Regions from separate parts of the Homo sapiens genome. Here all the other regions are linked to region 1. Evidence: promoter capture Hi-C in human tissues and cell types (Jung and others, 2019). All regions are on one chromosome and are shown on one strand. The core of a region is centred on a gene start or on the middle of the fragment in contact, and the rest is flanking DNA. Distances in the headings are between cores, read along the strand shown. Region 1 holds the start of LDLRAD3 (low density lipoprotein receptor class A domain containing 3). Region 2 overlaps LDLRAD3 (low density lipoprotein receptor class A domain containing 3). Region 3 has its middle 48 kb from the start of LDLRAD3.

Region 1 (3,698 bases), core at 559-3,058:
TATTTATATTTAAAAGTGTGTGTGCCTGTGTGTATGTGAGAGAGAGAGAACGAGAGAGAGAGTCAGAGTCAAACTTGCAAAGTAAGGAAGTTGATGTGTCCAAAGAAACCTAAGGAAATAAGAACTATAGCAGTGGGTCAGTTGCATTATCTTTCCGTATCCCTAATGTTTGGAGGCAAATGAGCAGCTGTAGGAGAAATTATTTGCTTATTTGCCTCCTCAGATATTATTATCAAAGGCAGGAGGCCTCTTCCCAACAAGCTTCCCGGAACAATGCACATACCCACATGCACAGGACATTTTGCATAAAATTTTAAGGGCTTTAAAATTCTTTGAAGCCCATGGGACGATCTCCATAATATTCATCAATCCCAGGATAAAAGCCCCGAATGCCAAATCATTTAGATAATTGATTTATATTTTCCATGTGTACTATGAACTATGGAACTTAACCTTTCCTCCCTCACATCACATTTTCTCATTACCTTGAACAATCATTGGTATTTTTAAATTTTGACCTGATCCTTTTTAGCCTTTATGTTTCCAGACTACAGCACGCAATTACAGAGTAAAGTAATTGAATCTTAACACCCTTGAGGGTGTCTCCAGGGCATCCCAAAATCTGACGCAGGCATCCCTTTTATAACTGCCCCTGTACCCATACCTTCCCCTTTCTTTCAGCCAGGTGGAGTTTGTGTAAATAAACTCAACCCTTTTGAGGGGTGGATTTTAGGGATGCAGTTCTATTGTTTTGACAAATGTATACAGTTGTGTAACTACCTCTATAATCAAGATTAGAACAGTCCCACTGCCCCCAAAAGTTTTAATTTATTGATCCATTTATCAATTGATGGACACTTGAGTTGTTTCCAGTTTTTGGCAATTATTTGCGTTAGTCTTTTGCTTTTTTTGGGTGGGGGATCAGAGAGAGTGGAGCACAGAAGTGTCATCCCCTTCTTCCACCATCTAAGTCTTTTGGGGCTTTTCACCAGTGCCCTCTGGAAGCAAGTGCATTGGTGCAGCTATATTTTTTGCATTTGGGTATCTGCCTTTCATGACCTTTTCCTTTTTTTAATTTTATTTTTTCCAAATTGGGTCCCAAACGTTCAACAGGTCAAGGTGGACACTATGCAGACAAAATAACTCATGTGGTCCACGCTGTGTGCATGGTAGGTGTCAGCTGCTCTTACCGGTGGCTCCCGGATCATCAGCCTTGGAATCAGCCACCATGTTGTTAAAAATGCAGAATCTCAGGCTCCACGCCAGATCTACTGAACCAGAGTCAGTATTTTAACAAGATCGTCAAGTGTGCCGGATGCATATTAAAGTTTGAGAAGCACTGGTATTCCACACTCGCTACTAAAAATATACTACAATTTTCTCATAAGATTTGACCCTTTATTTTAACTTTTTCTCTCTCGGTAGTAAACTCACTTTGTAGTTTGAGTAAAGAACTCAAGTTTTGGTCTGGGCGCTGCATCTCGCTGGGTGTGGAAGCAAAGGCAGAAATGAGAGGGACAAAAGGAAGCAGAGAACAGAGCCCAGGCTGTTAGAAGATCCTCGCGGCCAGACCTGGGAGGCTGAAAGGCTGAGAGACCGAAAGGCTGAACCCTCCGCCGCGCTCGGCGGCCCCTCGGAGTCAGGACACCCAGGGTAACATGCGGGTGGCCACGCGCAGCCCAGGCGCTTGCAAAACTTAGCGGAGCCGGGCCGGGGCCGGGCCCGGGGAAGGCGGGAGGGAGGAGGGCCAGGCGGGAGGGCGGGGACGGCGCGGCGAGGGGCGGGGTCAGCGCCGAGGCCGCGGGGGCAGCAACGACGCCGGGCAGCGGGAGCGGCGGCCGCGCCATGTGGCTGCTGGGGCCGCTGTGCCTGCTGCTGAGCAGCGCCGCGGGTGAGTCGGGGGGCGGCCGGCGAACTTCCCGCGGGGCGCGGGGCGCGGGGCGCGGGGCGCAGCGGCCGGGTGCGATCGCGTCCTCTCCCGGGCGCGGGCCGCTCTCCGGGCGTGGGTGAGCGCGGAGGGCGGACCCCGGCGCCGGGCTGGCCCGGACCCTGCCGAGGGGCCGCCGCGGGGTGCGAGCCGTCCTATTGTGTGGGCGTGCGCGCCGGGTCGTGTTGTGCTGTGTGCGCGGGCGGGGCTCTGTGTGCAGTCCGGGTCTGGGGAGCCCGGCGGCTGCCCCGATTGGGCGTAGCTCGAGTGTGGCTGTGTGTGTGTTGTGTGTGTTGAGGAACGGAGGCGGGGAAAGGAAAGGAGAGGAGAGGAGAGAACTCTTCCCTGGTCTCATCTTCCCAGACGCCTGGTCGCGCGCGGCTGCGTTAGCCTCCTCTGGGCCTCTTCCCGAGTCTCTGGCGTGCACTCCGTGCCTCAGTTTCCCCACCTGCACCGCGGAGGGAGTAGCAAAGCTGCTTCCTTTCATTCCTCTCTGGGACTGTTTGGTTTGGGTAAAGTGAGTTGAAGCAAGGCCGGATCTGGGAATTCATTTTTCCCCACTGATCCTGGGAACCGAAGCTTTATTTAAGACGTCTGACCACCCTACTTGCCCCGCGATGGGCGCCCTGACCGGCGAGGGGCCCTGGGAGAGGACACGGGGCTTCATCCGGCGGCCCTTTGAACCTGGCATCACCACCGCGTGTGCATCCCGGGGCCTGGACCGCAGCAAGCCTCTTTCCCTTCCAGACAGCGTGCTGTTCCCAGGAACTTTTCTGCTGATGTGGGCATGATCCGAATTCCAGCCTGGGAGCCCTTCCTCCTCTGCCCCTGCCCGCCGCCCACAGCTGTCAGCTGTCCCTCCTGGACTGGGCCCGCCCTTGGCCCCTTGACGTTTATTTCTGGGCATCTGATGCCTAGAATGTGGGTGACAGGGCCCAGTGAACTTTCTTCAGCAGAATCTTGCCTGCCTGGTGTTTGTGCCATCCACATGTCCAATAGCTGCCCTATTTTGCCAAGTGCTTCTAGCAGCTTGGCTGTCGAGGTGTCTTTGGTGGCCTGTGGGTTTGCTAAGTTGAGGCTCACTTCATTCTTAGCTGTGCCTTGGAGTTATGAATGCGTTAAAGGGATATCTCCTCTCTTCCTTGATGTCCCTGGTCCTGGGCATCCTCACAGCCCACTGGGCAGCCTTTCCTGCTCTCAGACCCATGACATCATCTCCACTCCTCTGATACCCCATTTAGATGCTTATGGGTTTGCTGGGCTTCCAGGGAGGGACTAGACCTCCTGGTGACTGCTGTGGATTTTTAACCAGGTCTGGGTGAGAGTGCCCTTAAATTAGTCCACCTGGGGAGAGAGTTCTCACAGGACATTGGGCAGCCAGGAGCAGGTGTGAATTGTTTGGAGGCTGTTAGAGCAGGTCGATTTTCAGGGCGTCTACAGATATGAAGACCTGTTTGGATTCACAAATTCAATCTGTGTAGCTGTGGTGTGTCCCCTCATAGCACCTGAGAAGGACAGTATGGAAGCTGGCTCTTGTGTGTGTCCTGGGAGAGCCACTGTAGCCAAATGGAAACTTATTTATTGCATCTCCCAGTTGGTACTGGGTTGCTTTAGTTGAGTCTCCATCTCTGTAAAAATAGTTGTAAAGTTAATTTTGTCCCTCTCTGGTCAGCAGTGGCTATTTAATGTGTGTGTGTACATCTGAGATAGGGCTAAAATAAATAAAATGGTCATAGCAAGGAGCAGACGGATAGGGGGAGGAATAGTCCAA
Region 2 (3,698 bases), core at 893-3,392, 44 kb after region 1:
TATTTGACGAGAGACTTATGTTGATGACTTTTTGTGAGAATGCTGCCGTTGTTCATGAGAGACATTCATATCCCAAGCATTTGTTGGATCCAGGAAGATCCAGATCCATCTAGGTTAGGGGCCACAAAAATAAGACAAAAATCTCTGCATAAAGGGCCATTGGGATTGCAACTGGACAGTGGCTGATTATCTCTAGGAAGAGGCTGAATTCTGAAAACATTTTGTATATGCAATGCCCCGGATTGGTTAAAGGAGAGATAATTTATTTCGTTTTATTTTTGTGTCTCTTTGATATAGAAGAAAAGAAATGTGAACAGAACTTGTACAATATATGGTAAATTCTCTCTACCAGAATATTGTTGATGTTCAGGCTCCAAGAATTAATGTGGTTTTATCTTGGAATTTAACCTGTTATTTATTGTGATATGCTTATGTAAGGACATGTGTTAGATAATGTGTTAGTCAGGGTAGGAGAGGTCTGTGCTGTGGTAACAAACTTCCTGGAAAGTTTAACACATAGAAGCCTATTTTTCACACAAAAGCCCCTGCAGATTGGATGGCAGTAGTGGGCGAGGGCTCTACCTGTCTTGGTCACTTTCTCCTGGCTGATTGAGACTCCACCGTCTGCAACATTGCCACAGCAGGAGAAGAGATTGCAGGACCTGTTGTTGCCAGCTCCTCTGTTCACCCTAAAAGTGATACATGTCCCCTTTCTGCACATTCCATTGACCCAAACTAGTCACGTGGCCCTGCCTAACCTGGGAAATGGGAGGACTGTCAGATGAGTATCACTCTCTGCCACAGATGATGCAGAGCACACCTTTTGGTAATTAGTTCATTGAATCTGAGTAAAAGCTCAGGCATGAGTAGTGTTGGGCCCATTTACTAGAGAAAATGAAGACTTGAGCTCTTCAAAGTCAAGGGCTGTATCTCTAGATCTCTCACACCGGGCTGTCTGCCTCACACTTTTCTCAGCACTCAGCAAAGGTTAGTTGAGTTGAATGAATGAGGCATTTAAAATCTGTTTGAGTATTCGTCTCATTCACGGGGCTGCTTCACTTAGAATTTTGCTAATGTAGTTGTCTGCCTAAAGAGAATATTCATGCCTCCTGTGGTGGAGGTGGGTCAAGTACCAGCTATGACACATTTGTATATCTTGTTATGACACATTTGTATATCTTGCTGGCAAGAAACTACTGAAGTCTGCATATTTTTAGGGATCATCTTTTTAAAGAATAATTTCAACTTTTGTTTTAGATACAGGGGATACCTGTGCAGGTTTGTAACATGAGGGTATTGCAAGATGCTAGGGTTTGGGGCATGATTGATCCCATCACCCAGGTAGTGAGCTTAGTACCCAATACTTAGTTTTTCAGCCCTTGCCCTGCTCCCTTCCTCCTCTGTCTAGCAGTCTCCAGTGTCTGTTGTTGCCATGTTTATGTCCATGAATACCCAATATTTAGCTCTCACTTATAAATGAGAACATACGGTATTTGGTTTTCTGTTCCTGCATGAATTCACTTAGGATAATGGCCACCAGCTGCATCCATGTTGCTGCAGAGGACAAGATTTTGTTATTTTTATGGCTGTGTATGTAGTAGTCCATGGTGTATATGTACCATATTTTCTTTATCCCATCCATTGTTGATGGGCACCTAGTTTGATTCCATGTCTTTGCTATTGTGAATGGTGCTACGTTGAACATACGAGTGCATGTGTCTTTTTGGTGGAATGATCTATTTTCTTTTATATATATACCTGGTAATGAGATTGCTGGGTCAGTCAAATGGTAATTTTGTTTTAAGCTCTTTGAGAAATCTCCAAACTGCTTTTCACAGTGGCTGAACTAGTTTACATTCCCATCAACTGTGTATAAGCGTTCCGTTTGCTCCACAGCCTCACCAGCATCTGTTGTTTTTTGACTTTTTAATAATAGTCATTCTGACGGGTATGAGATAGTATCTCATTATGGTTTTGATTTGCATTTCTCTAATGACATTTTTAAAAATATGTTTCTTGGCCACTTGTATGCCTTCTTTTTTGTTCGTTTGTTTTTTGAGACATGGTCTCACTCTGTCACCCAGGCTGGAGTGCAGTGGCATGGTCACAACTCACTGCAGTCTCAATCTCGTCGGGTCAAGCCATCCTCCCATCTTAGCCTCCCAATTAGCTGGGACTACAGGCATGCGCCACTATGCCTGCTAATTTTTAAATTATTTTTTGTAGAGATGGGGTCTCACTATGTTGCCCAGGCTGGTCTTGAACTCCTGGGCTCAAGTGATTCTCCCACCTCAACCTCCCAAAGTGCTGAGATTACAGGCATGAGCCAGTGTGCCTGGCTGTATGTCTTCTTTTGAGAAGTGGCTGTTCGTGTCTTTTGCCCACTTTTTAATGAGGTTATTTGATTTTTGCTTTTCGAATTAAGTTCCTTATGGATTCTGGATATTAGACATTTGTGGGATGCATAGTTTGTGAATATTTTCTCTCATTCTATAGGTTGTTTACTCTGTTGATAGTTTCTTTTGCTATGTAGAAGCTCCTTAGTTAAATTAGGTCCCACTTGTCAATTTTTTTTTTGTTTTTGAGTTGGAGTCTTGCTCTATCACCCAGGCTGGAGTGCAGTGGTGCGATCTTGGCCCATTGCAACCTCCACTTCCTGGGTTCAAGCGATTCTCCTGCCCCAGCCTCCCAAGTAGCTGGCTCTACAGGCACATGCCACCATGCCCTACTAATTTTTTGTATTTTTAGTAGAGTTGGGGTTTCACTGTGTTTGTCAGGATGATCTCGGTCTCCTGACCTCTTGATCTGCTCACCTCGGCCTCCCAAAGTGCTGGGATTACAGGCGTGAGTCACCATGCCTGGCCAGGTCCCACTTGTCAATTTTTGTTTTTGTTGCAGTTGCTTTTGAGGACTTAGCTATAAATTCTTTGCCAAGACTGATGTCCAGAATAGTATTTCCTACGTTTTCTTCTGGGAGTCTTATAGTTTGTGGTCTTATATTTAAATCTCTATCTTGAGTTAATTTTTGTATATAGTGAAAGATGGGTGTTCAATTTCATTCTTCTGCTTATAGCTAGCCAGATATCCCAGCACCGTTTACTGAATAGGAAGTCCTTTCCCCATTGTTTATTTTTGTCGACTTTGTAAAAGATCAGATGGCTGTAGGTGTGCAGGTTTATTTCTGGGTTCTCTCTTCTGTTCCATTGGTTTATGTGTCTGTCTTTGTACCATTACCATGCTGTTTTGGTTCGTGTAGCCCTATAGTATAGTTTGAAGTCCAGTAATGTGATGCCTGCACCTTTGTTCTTTTTGCTTAGGATTGCTCTGGCTCTTTGGGCTCTTTTTTGGTTCCATATGAATTTTAGAATTACTTTTCTCTAATTCTGTGGGAAATGACATTGGTAGTTTGATAGGATTAGCATTGAATCTGTAGATTGCTTTCGGCAGTATGGCCATTTTAACAATGTTGATTATTCTAATCCATGAGCATGGAAGGTTTTGTTTGTTTGTTTGTGTCTATGATATCTTTCAGCAGTGTTTTGTAATTCTCCTTATAGAGATCTTTCACCTGCTTAGTTATATGTATTCCTAACCAAGGAATATATCTTGGTTAGGTATGTATTTTATTTGTTAATTTTTTGTGGCTATTATAAATGGGATTGTGTTCTTGATTTGACTCTCAGCTAGAATGTTATTGG
Region 3 (3,698 bases), core at 811-3,310, 47 kb before region 1:
TCCATGTTAACTCCCTCGCCTCTCCACTCTCCTGTCCTCATCTCCAGAGTTTGAGGTACCCCTTGACTTAACATGGAAGTCAGCAGGCCATCCTCATGAGCTAGAAATTGTTAGCTCTCCTTGCATTTCTCTAAGGCAATGGTCTGAGACCTCTTTTGGGTACTTGGGATGATTGCATTTTGCTGTAATACAGGGGAAAGAAGAGAGCTGTGGGAGTCAAATTTTGGGGGCTTAAAGATCACCTGGAGTGTGTGTTAGAAACACAGACTCCAGTTTCATTCCAGTAATTCTTATTCATTGGGTGCCCCTATGAATGGGCTTTTTTTTTTTTTTTTTTTTTTTTTGACAGAGTCTTGCTCTGTCACCCAGGCTGGAGTGCAGTGGCACAATCTCAGCTCACTGCAAGCTCTGCCTCCCAGGTTGACGCTGTTCTCCTGCCTCAGCCTCCCGAGTAGCTGGGACTACAGGTGCCCACCACCACGCCCAGTTAATTTTTTCTTGTATTTTTAGTAGAGACGGGGTTTCACCGTGTTAGCCAGGATGGTCTCGATCTGACCTCATGATCTGCTCGCCTCGGACTCCCAAAGTTCTGGGATTACAGGCGTGAACCACCATGCCTCGCTGAATGGGTATTTCCAAGCCACCATCTGGCCACACTTAGAGAAGCTCTGGATTAAGAAGAGTTTCAGGCATTCAAGAAAAGCATCCCATATTCATCCTCTTTGACAAATTATTAGATCCTGGTTACCTTTAACCAGTTTAACGTAAAATTTCAGATTATGTCTTCATAAGAATTTATAACAAATTTTTAAATTTCAGATTCCATTGAAAAGCTGATGAACATCTAAAAAGAGAGAAGGTAGGGCTTATCTCCAAAATCAAAATGGTAGTTGCTTTTTTATCCTTGGGAGACTAGACTTGTCTTTAGGGTTCTTCAGTCCCTTCCAGAAGCCAGTTTTGTTTTTCCGTGTTTGTGTCTGTGGTAGACAGAATTTTGGCCCCCATTAAGCTGTGAAGTGTGTGGTAAGTTGTTATATAGCACTAGAAAACTAACAAAATCTAAATGTTTTCATTTAAAAAAATATTTTGGGGCTGGGTGCGGTGGCTCATGCCTGTAATCCCAACACTTTGGAAGGGCAAGGTGGGCGGATCATGTGAGGCCAGGAATTCAAGACCAGCCTGGCCAACATGGCGAAACTCCATCTCTACTAAAGATACAAAAAAATTAGCCAGACATGGTGGCACGTGCCTGTAGTCCTAGCTACTCTCGAGGCTGAGGCAGGATAATTTCTTGAACCTGGGAGGCAGAGGTTGCAGTGAGCTGAGATTGTGCCACTGCATGCCAGCCTGGGCAACAGGGTGAGACTCTATCTCAAAATATAAAATAAAATAAACATTTTGGTCTAGAATTTTGTTTTCTGTTTTGGTTCAGTTTGGTTTTTGGTATTCTTAGACTTGAATTCATTGCTGGATGATTCTCTATGTAGAAGTTCCCTGCCTCTCTTTGAAGACCACATCAGATGCCACTTCCTACAGGAAGCTTTCCCCAAGTAAGTCATTTGTTGTCATTAGCCTAATGGTCTTTGCTGGAAAAGTCCCCATTTGTTGGTGAGTGAGAAATGGGGGATGTGATACCATTTGGATATGTGTCCCCACCCAAATCTCATGTTGAGTTGTACTCCCTAGTGTTGGAGGTTGGGCTTAGGGGAAGGTGATTGGTCATGGGAGTGGATTTCTCATGAATGGTTTGGCACCATCCCTTGATGCTGTGCTTGTGATAGTTAGGGGGTTCTTGCAAGATCTGGTTGTTTAAAAGTATGTGGCACCTCCCCGCCTCTTGCTTCTGCTTTCGCCATATGACATACCTGCACCCCCTTCACCTTCTGTCATGATTGGAAGCTTCCTGAGGCCTCCCCAGAAGCAGATGCCACTATGCTTCCTGTACAGCCTGCAGAATCATGAGCCAATTAAACCTCTTTTCTTTATAAATTACCCAGTCTCGGGTATTTCTTTATAGCAATGCAAGAATTGGCCTAATACAGGGTGATAAAGGATTGAATGTATATATGAGGAGGGGGGGATGTTTGGGAGCCAGACAGAAAGATAAGTTCATTCATTCATTCGAGAAATATTGATCAAGCATCTATTATGTTTCTTCTAGGTGCTAAAGATACTCTGGTGAATATGACAGACAAAGTTTCCCTCTGTCTACATTGTAGAGGAGGCAAGCAGATAATACAGAAGTCAACAAATAAATAAAGAAAATTCTCCAGACAGCAATAAGTCCTACAGGGGGCAAACTTCCAGTAATACGTGAGAAACAGAAAAAGGAAGCCCCTTTAGAAACAGTTACTATTAAAGCCTTCGCTAAGAATGTGATTGTTGAGCTGAAACTTGGATGATGAGAAGGAAAATGTGCCCAAGAAGGGAAAGAGCAATTGCAAAAGCCCAGAGACTGGAGGGAACTTGATATGTTTTCTGAACAGGGTAAAAAAGGACTATTTGACAAAGAAGCAGTAAATGAGTGAGAAAGTACAGCCGAGGTCCGATTAGCAGACAGAGGCCAAATCAACTAACGTCTTGTAGATCACAATGAGGATGTGGGTTTTATTATATGTGTACTGGACAGCTAGTGGATGTGGAATATTATTGCAGCTTCTTCCAGACCAGACTCTTGCAGGAGTCAGATCTTGGGAAAGGGGTTGTGTGAGGTTGGAGCTGTAGGAGGATGCAGCTGCAGTCAGAACCATGGCAGGCTGGCAGGGATGATGGGAAGGAGAGAATAAGTATTCCAACTGCTCTAATCTTGCAGTCTCTTGCCAGTCCCTCCCGCTAGCTACAAAACAGAAAGGGAGAGGACAAAGCCACCTTGGTGATGCAGTTATCCAAGTGGTCAGCCTCACAGAAACAGGAGAGAATGTGTTGGAGAGGGCAAAGGAGATCATTACACACAGACTTGCTGTTTTAAGTACCTACAATGTCTTCTCAGCTAGCAGACTACTAGTTTATCTTCATAACTACCTACCAAAACCCACCCGGGCGGAGGGAGATAAGTGGAGTTAATGTATTCTAAGGTTCTTCCATTGTCCAGGAAGTAGTAAAAGTACTAATTAATACTAAACTATTATAAATCAGGAATGCATGGTATAAATTCTAAGGTGATCACTTAAAAAGGAGATAAAAGAATATATACCTAAAAGGCCAATAGAAGGGGGATATGGAATGATAAAAAAAAAACTTGACCAATTCAAAAGAAGACAACAAAGGAGAGGAAAAGGAATATAGAACAAAGAAAAGATAAATCATACAATAGATTTAAACCCAACTAAGTTATTATTTCAGTATTTCCATGAATGTACATTGACTGTGCTACAATTAAAATGTAAAAATTGTCTAATTGGATTTTTAAAAAATCCTCAACTATTTGCTACTTATAAGAAACATATCTTAAATATAAGGGCATAGAAAGCCTGGCTATAAATAATTGGCAAAAATATGCCATATAAGCATTAGGAAAAATAAGGATAATATATAGTCACGTATCAGAAAAAGTAAACTTTTTTTTTTTTTTGAGATGAGGTCTCACTATGTTGCACAGGCTAAAGTGCAGTGGCAAGATTGTGACTTACTACAACCTGGACCTCCTGGGCTCAAGCCATCCCCGCAACCCCAGCCTCCCAAGTAGCTGGGACTACAGA

The links. Contacts are between HindIII fragments. The study calls those that stand out against the background at their distance.
Region 2: a contact is called between a fragment that was not itself captured here and the fragment with the promoter of LDLRAD3 in region 1, in 1 of the 25 tissues and cell types used here (H1 embryonic stem cells).
Region 3: a contact is called between a fragment that was not itself captured here and the fragment with the promoter of LDLRAD3 in region 1, in 1 of the 25 tissues and cell types used here (thymus).

The regions. Positions count from the first base shown.
Region 1 is chr11:35,942,254-35,945,951 of GRCh38, forward strand. LDLRAD3 (low density lipoprotein receptor class A domain containing 3) reads left to right here and starts at 1,809. Exons shown (of 6, transcript NM_174902.4): 1 at 1,809-1,891. The coding sequence starts at 1,846. RefSeq lists a silencer at 1,720-2,159. The HindIII fragment of the contact is 6,577 bases long and covers 1-3,698 here.
Region 2 is chr11:35,986,019-35,989,716 of GRCh38, forward strand. The region is part of intron 1 of LDLRAD3 (low density lipoprotein receptor class A domain containing 3); the gene reads left to right. Among named protein-coding and RNA genes, the nearest start is that of MIR3973, 22 kb to the right of the region's middle. RefSeq lists an enhancer at 672-1,173. The HindIII fragment of the contact is 9,428 bases long and covers 1-3,698 here.
Region 3 is chr11:35,894,519-35,898,216 of GRCh38, forward strand. No RefSeq gene overlaps it. Among named protein-coding and RNA genes, the nearest start is that of LDLRAD3, 48 kb to the right of the region's middle. The HindIII fragment of the contact is 6,200 bases long and covers 1-3,698 here.